Regions from separate parts of the Homo sapiens genome. Here all the other regions are linked to region 3. The links are contacts of gene promoters, found by promoter capture Hi-C in human tissues and cell types (Jung and others, 2019). All regions are on one chromosome and are shown on one strand. Each heading gives the region's core, a stretch centred on a gene start or on the middle of the fragment in contact. The rest is flanking DNA. Distances are from core to core; before and after follow the strand shown. Region 1 overlaps ALPK1 (alpha kinase 1). Region 2 overlaps ALPK1 (alpha kinase 1). Region 3 holds the start of NEUROG2 (neurogenin 2). Region 4 overlaps ALPK1 (alpha kinase 1).

Evidence for each region. Contacts are between HindIII fragments. The study calls those that stand out against the background at their distance.
Region 1: a contact is called between a fragment that was not itself captured here and the fragment with the promoter of NEUROG2 in region 3, in 8 of the 25 tissues and cell types used here (H1 embryonic stem cells, IMR-90 fibroblasts, heart right ventricle and 5 more).
Region 2: a contact is called between a fragment that was not itself captured here and the fragment with the promoter of NEUROG2 in region 3, in 2 of the 25 tissues and cell types used here (mesendoderm cells and neural progenitor cells).
Region 4: a fragment that was not itself captured here is called in contact with the fragment with the promoter of NEUROG2 in region 3 in 2 of the 25 tissues and cell types used here (mesendoderm cells and spleen).

The regions. Positions count from the first base shown.
Region 1 is chr4:112,389,939-112,392,693 of GRCh38, reverse strand. The region is part of intron 4 of ALPK1 (alpha kinase 1); the gene reads right to left. Among named protein-coding and RNA genes, the nearest start is that of ALPK1, 94 kb to the right of the region's middle. The HindIII fragment of the contact is 5,643 bases long and covers 1-2,755 here.
Region 2 is chr4:112,415,175-112,417,874 of GRCh38, reverse strand. All of the region lies in intron 5 of ALPK1 (alpha kinase 1), which reads right to left. Among named protein-coding and RNA genes, the nearest start is that of NEUROG2-AS1, 99 kb to the left of the region's middle. The HindIII fragment of the contact is 3,375 bases long and covers 1-2,700 here.
Region 3 is chr4:112,514,872-112,517,571 of GRCh38, reverse strand. NEUROG2 (neurogenin 2) reads left to right here and starts at 1,392. Exons shown (of 2, transcript NM_024019.4): 1 at 1,392-1,725; 2 at 2,096-2,700. The coding sequence starts at 2,097. NEUROG2-AS1 (NEUROG2 and ZGRF1 antisense RNA 1) reads right to left here and starts at 2,193. Exons shown (of 4, transcript NR_161159.1): 1 at 1,932-2,193. LOC124900760 (a long non-coding RNA gene) reads right to left here and starts at 767. Exons shown (of 2, transcript XR_007058231.1): 1 at 533-767. RefSeq lists enhancers at 171-290, 391-490, 1-621 and silencers at 631-910, 2,231-2,300, 2,561-2,700. The HindIII fragment of the contact is 15,153 bases long and covers 1-2,700 here.
Region 4 is chr4:112,436,872-112,439,571 of GRCh38, reverse strand. ALPK1 (alpha kinase 1) reads right to left here. Exons shown (of 16, transcript NM_025144.4): 13 at 926-1,088. Among named protein-coding and RNA genes, the nearest start is that of NEUROG2-AS1, 77 kb to the left of the region's middle. The HindIII fragment of the contact is 4,969 bases long and covers 1-2,700 here.

The DNA of each region.
Region 1 (2,755 bases), core at 37-2,536, 120 kb after region 3:
TTAGCCAGGCATGGTGACATGCACCTGTAGTCCCAGCTACTTGGGAGGCTGAAGTGGGAGGTTGGCTTGAGCCTGGGAAGCAGAGGTTACAGTCAGCCAAAATTGTACCACTGTACTGCACTGCAGCCTGGGCAACAGAGACATACACTGTCTCAGATAAATGAAATTACTTTTAATTGCAAAAACCACAATTACATTTTCACTAACCTAATAATAATAATATTCTAAGAATGAGATGATATGCTTGGAACCAGAATAGTTACAGTAGGATTAGGGAAAGGAAAATGTGTTTGAGAGACATCTAAGAGGAAAATTATTAGAATTTGGTAACAAATGAGATATGAGGGTTGGGGGGAAGTTAAAGCCAAGGTCTTGATTTGGGGAACTGGGTGGTTTGTAGTGCCATTTACCGATATGGTGATCGCTGGGGGTGGATAAAGTTTGGTTGGTGGAGGGAGAAGAAGTTGAGAGATTATGAGTTCAGTTTTGGACCTATTGAACTTGAGACATCTAGGACATCCAAATGGAAATATTTAGTGGGCTCTTGACTGTACTATTTACCACAAACTGATGAAGTGGGAAGAGTGATATGTTTTTCCCAATCTATTTTCTCTAGTTATGTTTAAGAATAAAATAACTTAGTAGATACTAGAGCCTATTCTTCTTTTCCTTTTAGAAGCATTTCTGTTGAAATATTCCATTGAACAAATTCTGTTTTTTTTTCCTGTGGACTGGGGTTTATTTTGCCTTCTGTTCTATAGAGGCACAGGCTTACATACTAAGAATCTAGAAGTCATTTGAAAGCTTTCTTGCTTCATTGTCTTACACATATGCACTTGGTATGTTAGTTTCCTGAGAAGGCCATAAACTGGGTGATTTAAAAGAATATAGATGTATCATTCCTCACTTCTGGAGGCTGGAAGTCTGAAATCAAGACGTCAGTGGGGCCATGCTCTAACAGGAGCATCTGTTCCCTGCCTTTCTTTTAGCTTCTGATGTTGCCAGCAACCCTTGTGCTTCTTGATCTGCAGCTGTATGGTTCCAATCTCTGCCTCTATCATCACATGGCATTTACCCTATGTCTCTAGGTATTCTCACAAGGCCACTAGTCACACTGGCTTAAGGGCTCACCCTACTCCAGTATGACCTCATTTTAACTTAATTAATTCCATCTACAATAACTTTATTTTCAAATAAAGTCCTCTGAGGTACCGAGGGATAAGACTTTAATGCATCATTTGGGGGGTCAATTCAACCCATGATACATGGTAAGACTGTGATAATGCTAAAATTTAATTGCCTTTAATGACAAAATTGTTTTGGCAATTGTTGTCCATACTTTTTATGGCCTGCAGTTTGGCTGTAACACTGACACTCTCTTCAACATTTGTTGCCCTTCTCAGGTTGAGGGAGTAGCCCCTACCTTGTTCACAAGGCAAAGGAAAACTTCCAATTGCTGAACAACACAACGGCTCATAAATCTTCTGCTAGGGACTGGCATATGTCACTTCCAGCCACATTTCATAGACTAAGACAGGTTGTGAGGGCCTAGCCTAATATCTCCATGGGAAGGTATATTCCTTTCAGAGGGAGGCATGCAAGTCACATGGCAAAAGTGAATATGTGGGAACAATAATACAATCTACCTCAGTCTAGCTCATTCCATGAATCATGACATACCTTAGGTTGTTTTTCATAATGTCTCTTAGATATGCTTCCTCTTTCCACTTCTCTCAAGCCTAACGTTTATGCAGGACCTCACATAATCATTCTTTCCTTGGCAGTTCAGTGTGCTCCCCAAACTCAGGATCTCCCCACTCCAATTTATAATATGCACAACAAATAGCATTATCTTCTTCAGGTGATTACTTCATTTCTTTATCAGGAAACATTTAAGGCATTTACTTAAATGCCTTCCATCCCTGAGAGATACATGGGCATTATCCTCCTGACCAGTACCTAGACAATTGTCTGACTGTGGGCCACACATGGGGCAGCCTCATATATATTTCAACACACATGCACATCAAACACCATGTTTTTCAAATAACATTAATACGGTTTCATTCATCCATCCATCCACCCATCCATCCATCATCCATCCATCCAAGGGTGTTCTTTGAAGGTATGCATTTTAAGTGTCAGGGATATAATGGTGAACACAGATAAGGCCCTGACCTCATGAAGCTTGTAGCTAGCAGAAGAGAGAGACAGAAACCCCACAAACAAATGTAAACAAATGTAAAAGAAACCCCACAAACAAATGTAAACTGCAACTTTGAAAAGGTGATACCTTATAGCCAAGCCTATATTGAGGAAGTTTGATTTAGTCCCAGAGATCAGGGCAGGCTTCCCTGAGAACTGAGATGTGAGCTGAGAAGGGAAAGATACACAGAAATTAATCAGGCAAAGGAGGGAGGGAAGAATGTCTCGGGAATGGAGAGCAGCTATGTGCATGGAATAATCCCGGTAAGAGTGTGGACTGAAAGGAGGCCATGAGATGGAGATGATGCAGCAGGGGCAGCCAAGGGAAGGACTATGCCTGGCAGGGCCCATGGGCCTCATTTCAGAGTTTTGCATTCCTAGGCATACTAGGGTGACAGACTAGAGTTGTAGTTTGCACAAACACCTCTGTGCATGGAGAAGAGATGTGGAGGAGTGAAGTGGGGTAGATGTGTGAGGCTATTCAGGAAGCAATGGCAGGAGCCCAGGTGAGATATAGCTGCAGCTGGAACAGGAGTAGTGATGGGGTGGA
Region 2 (2,700 bases), core at 120-2,619, 100 kb after region 3:
AAAATCTATTTAGGTGAACACATACTTTTTCTTCTTTATTCTGTGCATGTGGTGCACTAAATGAATAGATTTAAAAATACTTAACTATCAGCCAGGCACGGTGACTCATGCCTATAATCCCAGGACTTTGGGAAGCTGAGGCAGGAGGATCGCTTGAGCCCAGGAATTCAAGACCAGTCTGGGCAACGTAGAGAGACCTCGACTCTACAGAAAATAAACAAGTTAGCTGGGCATGGTGGCACATGCCTGTAGTCCCAGCTACTTGGAAGGCTAAAGTGGGAGGATTGCTTGGCCTGGAAGGTTGAGGCTGCAGTGACCCATGATTGCACCACTGTACTCTAGCCTGGGTAACAGAGTGAGATCGTGTCCCCCAAAAAATAAAAACAAAAATAAAACCCACTATCCTTATGTATCTGGAATAAACCTTCCTTGATTGTAATGCATTATTAATTTAATACAATGTTGGTCAATTTGGTAATATTTCAAGATTTTTTGCACCTTATTAATTATATAAGTGATATTGCCATATAATTTCCTTTTATTTTAATCTTATATGGCTAAATGTATTTACCACATTCTTTAGTCATCATCTTTTTTTACTCTCCACTTCTTCATTCTAAGTTCAATTTTCTTCTTAGAAAAATGCATCCTTTAGTGTGTATGTGAGTGTGTGTGTGAATGAGAGAGCTGTCTTGAGAATAATTTATTTTTAGCCAATCAGGTCTGAAAATGTCTATTTTATCCTCACTTTTGAATGACAATTTTGCTAGGTATAAAATCCGAGGTCAAAACCTATGTCCTCTCAATTTTTTGGAGATTCTCTTGCTTTCTGGACTCTTATTATTGATAAGATACTTTTTGTTAGTCTAAATATACTTCCTATATTAATCTGTCTTTTCTGTCTGTTTCTTTAAGACTTTCTTATTGTATGATTTTCTATAGTTTACCACACTAGGTATGGTCTTGAATTTATTTAAAAAGTTTTTTTTTTTTTTTTTTGAGACAGGGTCTTGCTCTGTCACTCAGGCTGGAGTGCAGTGGTGTAATCATGGCTCACTGCAGCCTCAATCTCCTGGTCTCAAGAGATCCTCCCACCGTAGCCTCTGGAGTAGCTGAGACTACAGCTACATGTCACCACACCTGGTTGATTTTGTTTATTTTTTGTAGAGATGAGATCATCCTGTGTTGCCCAGGCTGGTCTTGAACTCTTGGGCTCATGCGATCCCTCCCACCTTGGCCTCCTAAAGTCCTGGGATTACAGGTGTGAGTCACCATGCCTGGCCTAAAACTTTTTTGCCCAAGGCTAGATATACTCCTTCAGTGTAAAGACATAATTTTCTCCAATTCTGAGTCTAGTTAGTCCCGCTAGAAGTCTTCCTATGCTTCTGTGTTTTTTTAAATCTCTTTGAGTTTTTTAAACTTCCCTATTTTCATCTACTTAGCTCTCTGTGCTTCATTTTCAACATTTTTTTTAAATACAGTTTCCAGTTCCATAATTTTCTCCCCCACTGTTAATGGTATTGCAGGCGTACATTTCCGGTAGGTCAGTTATGGGGTTGGAACATCTGAGAAACTGGCTGTAGAAAATGTACCTTGATTTTAAGGTTGTTAGTGGTCATTAGTCCCAGGTGGGCAGCCAGGCACGTGGTTAGAATCTTTAGATGATCCCTTGCTAGTCAAGCAAGGTTCACAGAACAGCAGCATCTCAGGCCGTACCAGAGATCTACTGAATCGGAATCTGCATTTTAATAAGATCTTTAGGGGATTCAGAGCACACTGAAGTTTGGGGAGCACTACTATTTGTGTCTTTTTGTTGCTAGCCTGAATCGAGGAGATTAAGTGAAACACTGAGAGTGAGCATTTAGAAATTTTTATTATGATTTGCCAAAATAATTGTATAACTCTTGAAGCTGATGATAATAAATACATTAAGCTTGCATTTTTGTATCTTTGTTTTTTACTTCATTTTTCTAAGGATTTATTTTATCTCATTCACCCCATTGAAGCAGTCTGGTTGGCAGTTGGGCACCCTTACTAGCAGGTGAAATGCCAAAAGCTTATCTCACCAACCGGGAGGGTGTTCTGTGCTCTTCAGCCATGGTTTTGTAGTTGAATTCTTGTATCCTGTCTATATAAAAACAAACTTGCATGCGCTGCCTGTTCTGTGGGGAATTCCCCATCAATTACTATTACTTTCTCTTTTTTTTTCTTTTTTGTTTTCTTTCTTTCTTTTTTTTTTTGAGACAGAGTCTCACTGTAACCCAGGCTGGAGTGCAATGGCATGATCTCAGCTCACTGCAACCTCTGCCTTCTGGGTTCAAGCAATTCTCCCGCCTCAGCCTCCCAAGTAGCTGGGATTTCGTGCGCCTGCCACCACACCAGGCTAATTTTTTGTATTTTTAATAGAGATGGGGTTTCACCATGTTAGCCAGGCTGGTCTCGAACTCCTGACTTCAGGTAATCCACCCGCCTTGGCCTCCCAAAATGCTGGGTTTACAGGCGTGAGCCGCTGCCCAGCCTGTTGCTTATAATTTTAATGTAAGGTCATCTTTAGCCAAGAATATTTTCCTGTGAGATTCCCATGGCCCTGGGTGTGGATACTTCTCTAGAGTATAGTTTTGCATTTGATCTCCTGGGGCCCAGAAATTTCAGTCCTGAACAATTTTTTTTTCTTAATTATTTGATGGCAGGTTTCCTGCT
Region 3 (2,700 bases), core at 143-2,642:
GATCCATCCCCATGTCGACAAGAGGGTGGGCATGAACGTGGGGAAAGTGGGGAGGGCTAACGAGCAATTGAGAACAAGTTTCCCCCGAGGTCCAGTAGCCCTTCAGCTCTTTTTTCTCATTGAAAAGCAGAATTGGGAAGATGGGCCCCTTGTCCCTACAACGCCCCCCAGCGCGGAGCAGAGGTCACAGAAATGTCAGCGCAGCGCATTTGCTTGCAGGAGCAGCAGCTCTGCCGCTCCTCCCGCTCGGTTCGCTGCCACCCACGCAGGAAGCCTCCTTGCTGTCCCTCCAGGCTATAAACTGGGTTAACCCCAGCAAAACCTGCATCAGTGCCCGGAGCCTCAGTTTCCTGTATGTAAAATGAGGGGGATCCTTTCAGCTCTAACATGTGAGTGATTTCATTCTCACATCCTCTAAAAGCTCATCAACTGCTCCCCTATCCGACCTCCCCTCCCAAGAGACGCCTGTTTGAATCCCCAGTGTCCTCTCCCTTCACTCTCCCACGCCAGTTTCGACGGACCCCAAACACACTTGTTCACGAGGTGTCCACATCTCTCCATCCACGCCATTCTCCTCCCCTAACCAAATGAATCCATTTTAAAATCGTTTACTATTTGATACAACCCCTAAGAGGCTTTGCCAAGAGACGCCCGGCAGCACCACAGGGCTAACTGCTTTCCCCGGGATTCTGACCCCCATTAACTAATTCCTAGTTCCCATCACCCGGGAGTTAGGAGGGCCGGCAGCGCCGGGTGCGGTGCCTGCGCGCGCGCCGGGCGGGGGGAGCCTCGGCGGCAGCGAGGACGAAGGCGGGGGCGGTAGCACGGGTCCCCCCATCCGCCCCCAGCGCTCGGGCCCCTAATGAGCTGCTGAAAGGGAGCGGGCTCCGGTGCGCGTGGCTCGCAGGCCTCCCGGAGTCCAGGGCGCCCTGATTGGCCAGCTGCGCCTCGCGACCTCCATTCATTAATAAATTAGCGGCACGCTCCAGCCGAGCGCGAGCCACCAATCACAATGGACAGCGGCGGCGACAACAGCCGCAGCTTGAGCCTCTGCGGCCGCTGCGGCTTCGCCAGCTCCGGCCGCAGCCCGGAGCTCCAACAGGAGCTTTAGAACCATTTTATGTTGATTAGATAAAGGGGGAAAAGAGAGGCGGGGGTGGTGGGAGGAGGAGGATGGATGGCAGGGCCAAGGGAGGGGGAAAGGCGGTGAAGAAAGAGGAAGAAATGAATGATGATAATGCAATGAAAAGAATAAGCCAGAGGAGGGAAAAGCGGGGGAGAAGGGGGGCAGGACTGACAGGAGGAGGAGGCGGTGGCGGGGGAGGAGGGGGCCCGGGGCAGATCTGATTGTTTTCTTGGTGGTATATAAGGGGTTTTAAGGAGAGTCGTGTGCCAGACACGCAGCCACTGAACCACAAGCAGCTTCGCGTTAACTGGAGTGCCTGGGAGTCGCGTGCCAGGAGCCGCACGGCCAGGGACTGACTGACAGACAGACACGCACCACCACCACAACACACGAGACCCGGGCGGGCCGCCGCCGCCGCCGCCGGGGCTCTTGGCAAACTCGCCGGTCGCAGAGGTCCCCCGCGGAGCTGCGCCACAGTAGCGCCGGGCTTGCAGCTTTCACGCCGGGCGAAGGACCCGGCGCTGCGCTCGCAGCTGCGCGGAGATTCCCGGCACAGGCCAAAGTCACAGCAACGCTGAGGCACAGTTAGAGCCAACTAAGTAAGTATTCGAGCCACCGCTTCCAACTACGCAGGTGGTTTCCCCGCACTCAGTCCAACCACACCCGCACGCCCTCTGCTCCGCGCAGAATCTTTGTCGCGGAGGCCGCAGTCCCTTCTCGGGGAGGGAACGCAGGACCGCCCGCGGAGGGCAGGACCCGGCTGACTGGCAGCAGGGTCACAGCGAGCGCTAGCGGCGCTCCTGACCTTGGTTAGCACTGCCTGGGTTTCTTCCTTCGCCTTCCTGCTCCGCGCCATTCGGAGCTGGTCTTCTCGGGTGCGCGCCGGAGCACGCCCCTGTGACACGAAGATCGCGCCTCTGTTTCTTTCCTTACACCTCACTGCCTTTTTCCCCTTTCTCTCTTCGGTAGGATGTTCGTCAAATCCGAGACCTTGGAGTTGAAGGAGGAAGAGGACGTGTTAGTGCTGCTCGGATCGGCCTCCCCCGCCTTGGCGGCCCTGACCCCGCTGTCATCCAGCGCCGACGAAGAAGAGGAGGAGGAGCCGGGCGCGTCAGGCGGGGCGCGTCGGCAGCGCGGGGCTGAGGCCGGGCAGGGGGCGCGGGGCGGCGTGGCTGCGGGTGCGGAGGGCTGCCGGCCCGCACGGCTGCTGGGTCTGGTACACGATTGCAAACGGCGCCCTTCCCGGGCGCGGGCCGTCTCCCGAGGCGCCAAGACGGCCGAGACGGTGCAGCGCATCAAGAAGACCCGTAGACTGAAGGCCAACAACCGCGAGCGAAACCGCATGCACAACCTCAACGCGGCACTGGACGCGCTGCGCGAGGTGCTCCCCACGTTCCCCGAGGACGCCAAGCTCACCAAGATCGAGACCCTGCGCTTCGCCCACAACTACATCTGGGCACTCACCGAGACCCTGCGCCTGGCGGATCACTGCGGGGGCGGCGGCGGGGGCCTGCCGGGGGCGCTCTTCTCCGAGGCAGTGTTGCTGAGCCCGGGAGGAGCCAGCGCCGCCCTGA
Region 4 (2,700 bases), core at 1-2,500, 78 kb after region 3:
TTTCATCATGGGTAAAGTAGGTATAATTATAACTACCTTTTAGGCTTGTTAAAGGGATTATGCAAGGAAATGCATGTAAAATGCTTAACACGGCATGTGGCATGTCATAGAACTTAAATTTATTGTCATTCACATATTAAACTGCTCACTTAAGATTTAGGCCATGACGTGACCTGTCCTGGAGGCTAGGTTACCAGGACATGAAGTTAGATCATGCTCAGGGACTCTAGGTTAAAACATCAGCTTTGTGGAGTTGTTTCAAAGGTTAGAGTTAAGGTTTGCAAACTGCCTGGCACAGTGAGTGACATAAAGAAGGTATGAAATGGATGATAATTACTATTATGATTAGGAAAAGACGGGTCTAAAAATGTCTCTGGCCAATGAAAAAATTATTGCAAGTATGAATGCACTCAGGATCTAATATATTCGGGGTAGCAAGGCATTCTTGATCCAAAGAAGAGAAAACTCAATGGGAATATTAGCCTTTATCTATTGAAAGGGGTATGTTAGTGAAGAGAGACTGGTCTTCATGGTCCCAGGAGGGAGAGCTGTAATCCATGGACAGAAGTTAGATAAAGATAGATTTGGGCTAAGTCTAAGAACTTTCTAACAATTAGGATTACTTGAAAGTGAAAGGAGAACAATTATTTTTTCTTGCTGAAGGTGTGTAAGCTTTGACTTAGCAATCACTTGGTTGCAAGGGGTGAGGCCAACAGATGTAAAATGGGATTTATGTATCATGTTGAGGGGATAGTTTGTACTAGATAAATCTTTAGGGTTCTTTCTCTCTTGGAAAGTACAGGGACAACACACAAGGATAGTTTGCTAAAAATGCTAGCCTGATTATGTGGAACCAGATACTCAGATTAATTGATATTCAAGTGTGATTTGGAAGATCCAAATGATGTGTTCAGGATAATCTTACCAGTAGTATTGTGGATGGGATGTAGAATATCTGGGTGGGAATGTTTTGTTCATAGAGTCTCTTGTTAAATTCTGTCACATAGTGCTGTGCGGTCATCTGTCGCTCCACATCAGTGAAGTGGTGCCAGAGCCCCTTCTGCTCCTTATAGTCTTTCCCAACATACCTATGAACAAAGAAAATCCACACAACAAAATGCAAAAGTGGTCTTACTTACTATGGAGTAAGAGAGAGGAGATCAAAAGACATATGCAGAAATGCTTGAAAGATCTCTTTCTCTGCCTTAGACTGAATATTAATTATTTTGACTTATCTCAAGATTCAAATAATTTTGTAAGAGCTACTTGAACAATGGAACACACTCATTCTAGCTGACCCAGAATGATACTGATTATAAAGGGAAAGTGTCACTTAATGTAGAAGTTCTCCAGACCTCTGGTAAGACAAGGGGGTCAGCAAAGTATACTGGAATGTGCATGGATTCTGGAGTCAAAACCTTCCACTCCCTGCAGTGTGGCCTTATATAGTCAGTTCATCAATCTGAAGCCTTCCTCTATCCCTTCCTTTTATGATTACTTCATTCCTATAAATACTTATTATCCGTCAATACCTATTATGTGCATAACACTGTGCTAGTCTTGAGTGACTTGAAGAAAGTGTGAGACATGATTTGTATATTTCAAGAGCTAATAGCACAGTTGGTGTGGGAAGACACAAGGCAGTAAATGATTACATGCGGAAAGAAGCAAAACAGTGCTGCACTTTACTGTAGTTTATACTTGCTGTAAACTGGTGTGAATTTGTGAGTAATTTCACATGTGCCCAGAGTGACCACCAAAAATCAAGGGGAATTGTTTGAGTCATAGACTTCAACCAGAGTAAACTCTCTCCAGAAATTTCTGAATCCCATATAATAATGGAACTTAAGGAGGCTGTGGTTTTGGCCATTCAGACTCCTGAAGACCAGAAAGGAAATCTGATAGTGGAGGCTGCAGTATGGCCTCAGAAGGCAGCCTGCAGAGGAGCAGTTGTTGTAATAGGGATGCCATACCAGTGCTTTAGGCAGTTCTTCTATGGAGAGACCGCAAGACCTATAGAGGGTTTGAACTAATTCAGAATTTTGTTGACTGATACCAGAGGTGTGCACAAGAGAGTGAACCTGTGAGTACTGGCTACTGGAGCATTTCCTGAACATTCTGCCAGAAGACCTCCAGTCTTAGGCAGGGGATCATCAATCTGAGAACAGAAGTCCATATCTTCTCTCATCTTGTACCATTTTTTTTCTGGGATCATTTTTCTTTAGTGAGGATTTGTTCATGGTAAACTGCCATGGTCATTTTTCCTTTTAAGCTGCAAATGTCTTTATTTTGTCTTCCTCCATAAAAGAGAGTTGCACTAAGTATATGACTTCCATTGTCTCTGAATTCCATTGTTGCTATGAAGAAACCAGCTGTAGGTCAAATTGACATTTCTATGTACGTAATCTGTCTATTTTCTTTGACTGCTTTTAAAATGGTTTCTTTGTCCTTAGTGTTTGGAGTTTGACTACTGTGTACCTAGTCAAACTAGGTACACAGGATGTCTGACTACCTGCCTTCCAGCTTCTTTCCTCCTTTCCCTTCTGTCCTTAGGATTCACTGTGATTTCTGTATTTCAAGATTAGTGTATTTTGGCAATTCTGAAAAATTACCAGAAAGTATCTATTCAAATATTGTTTTTGCTCTCTTGCTGTTATTTTCTTCTGATCAGAAATATATTGAACTCTGCCACTCCATTCT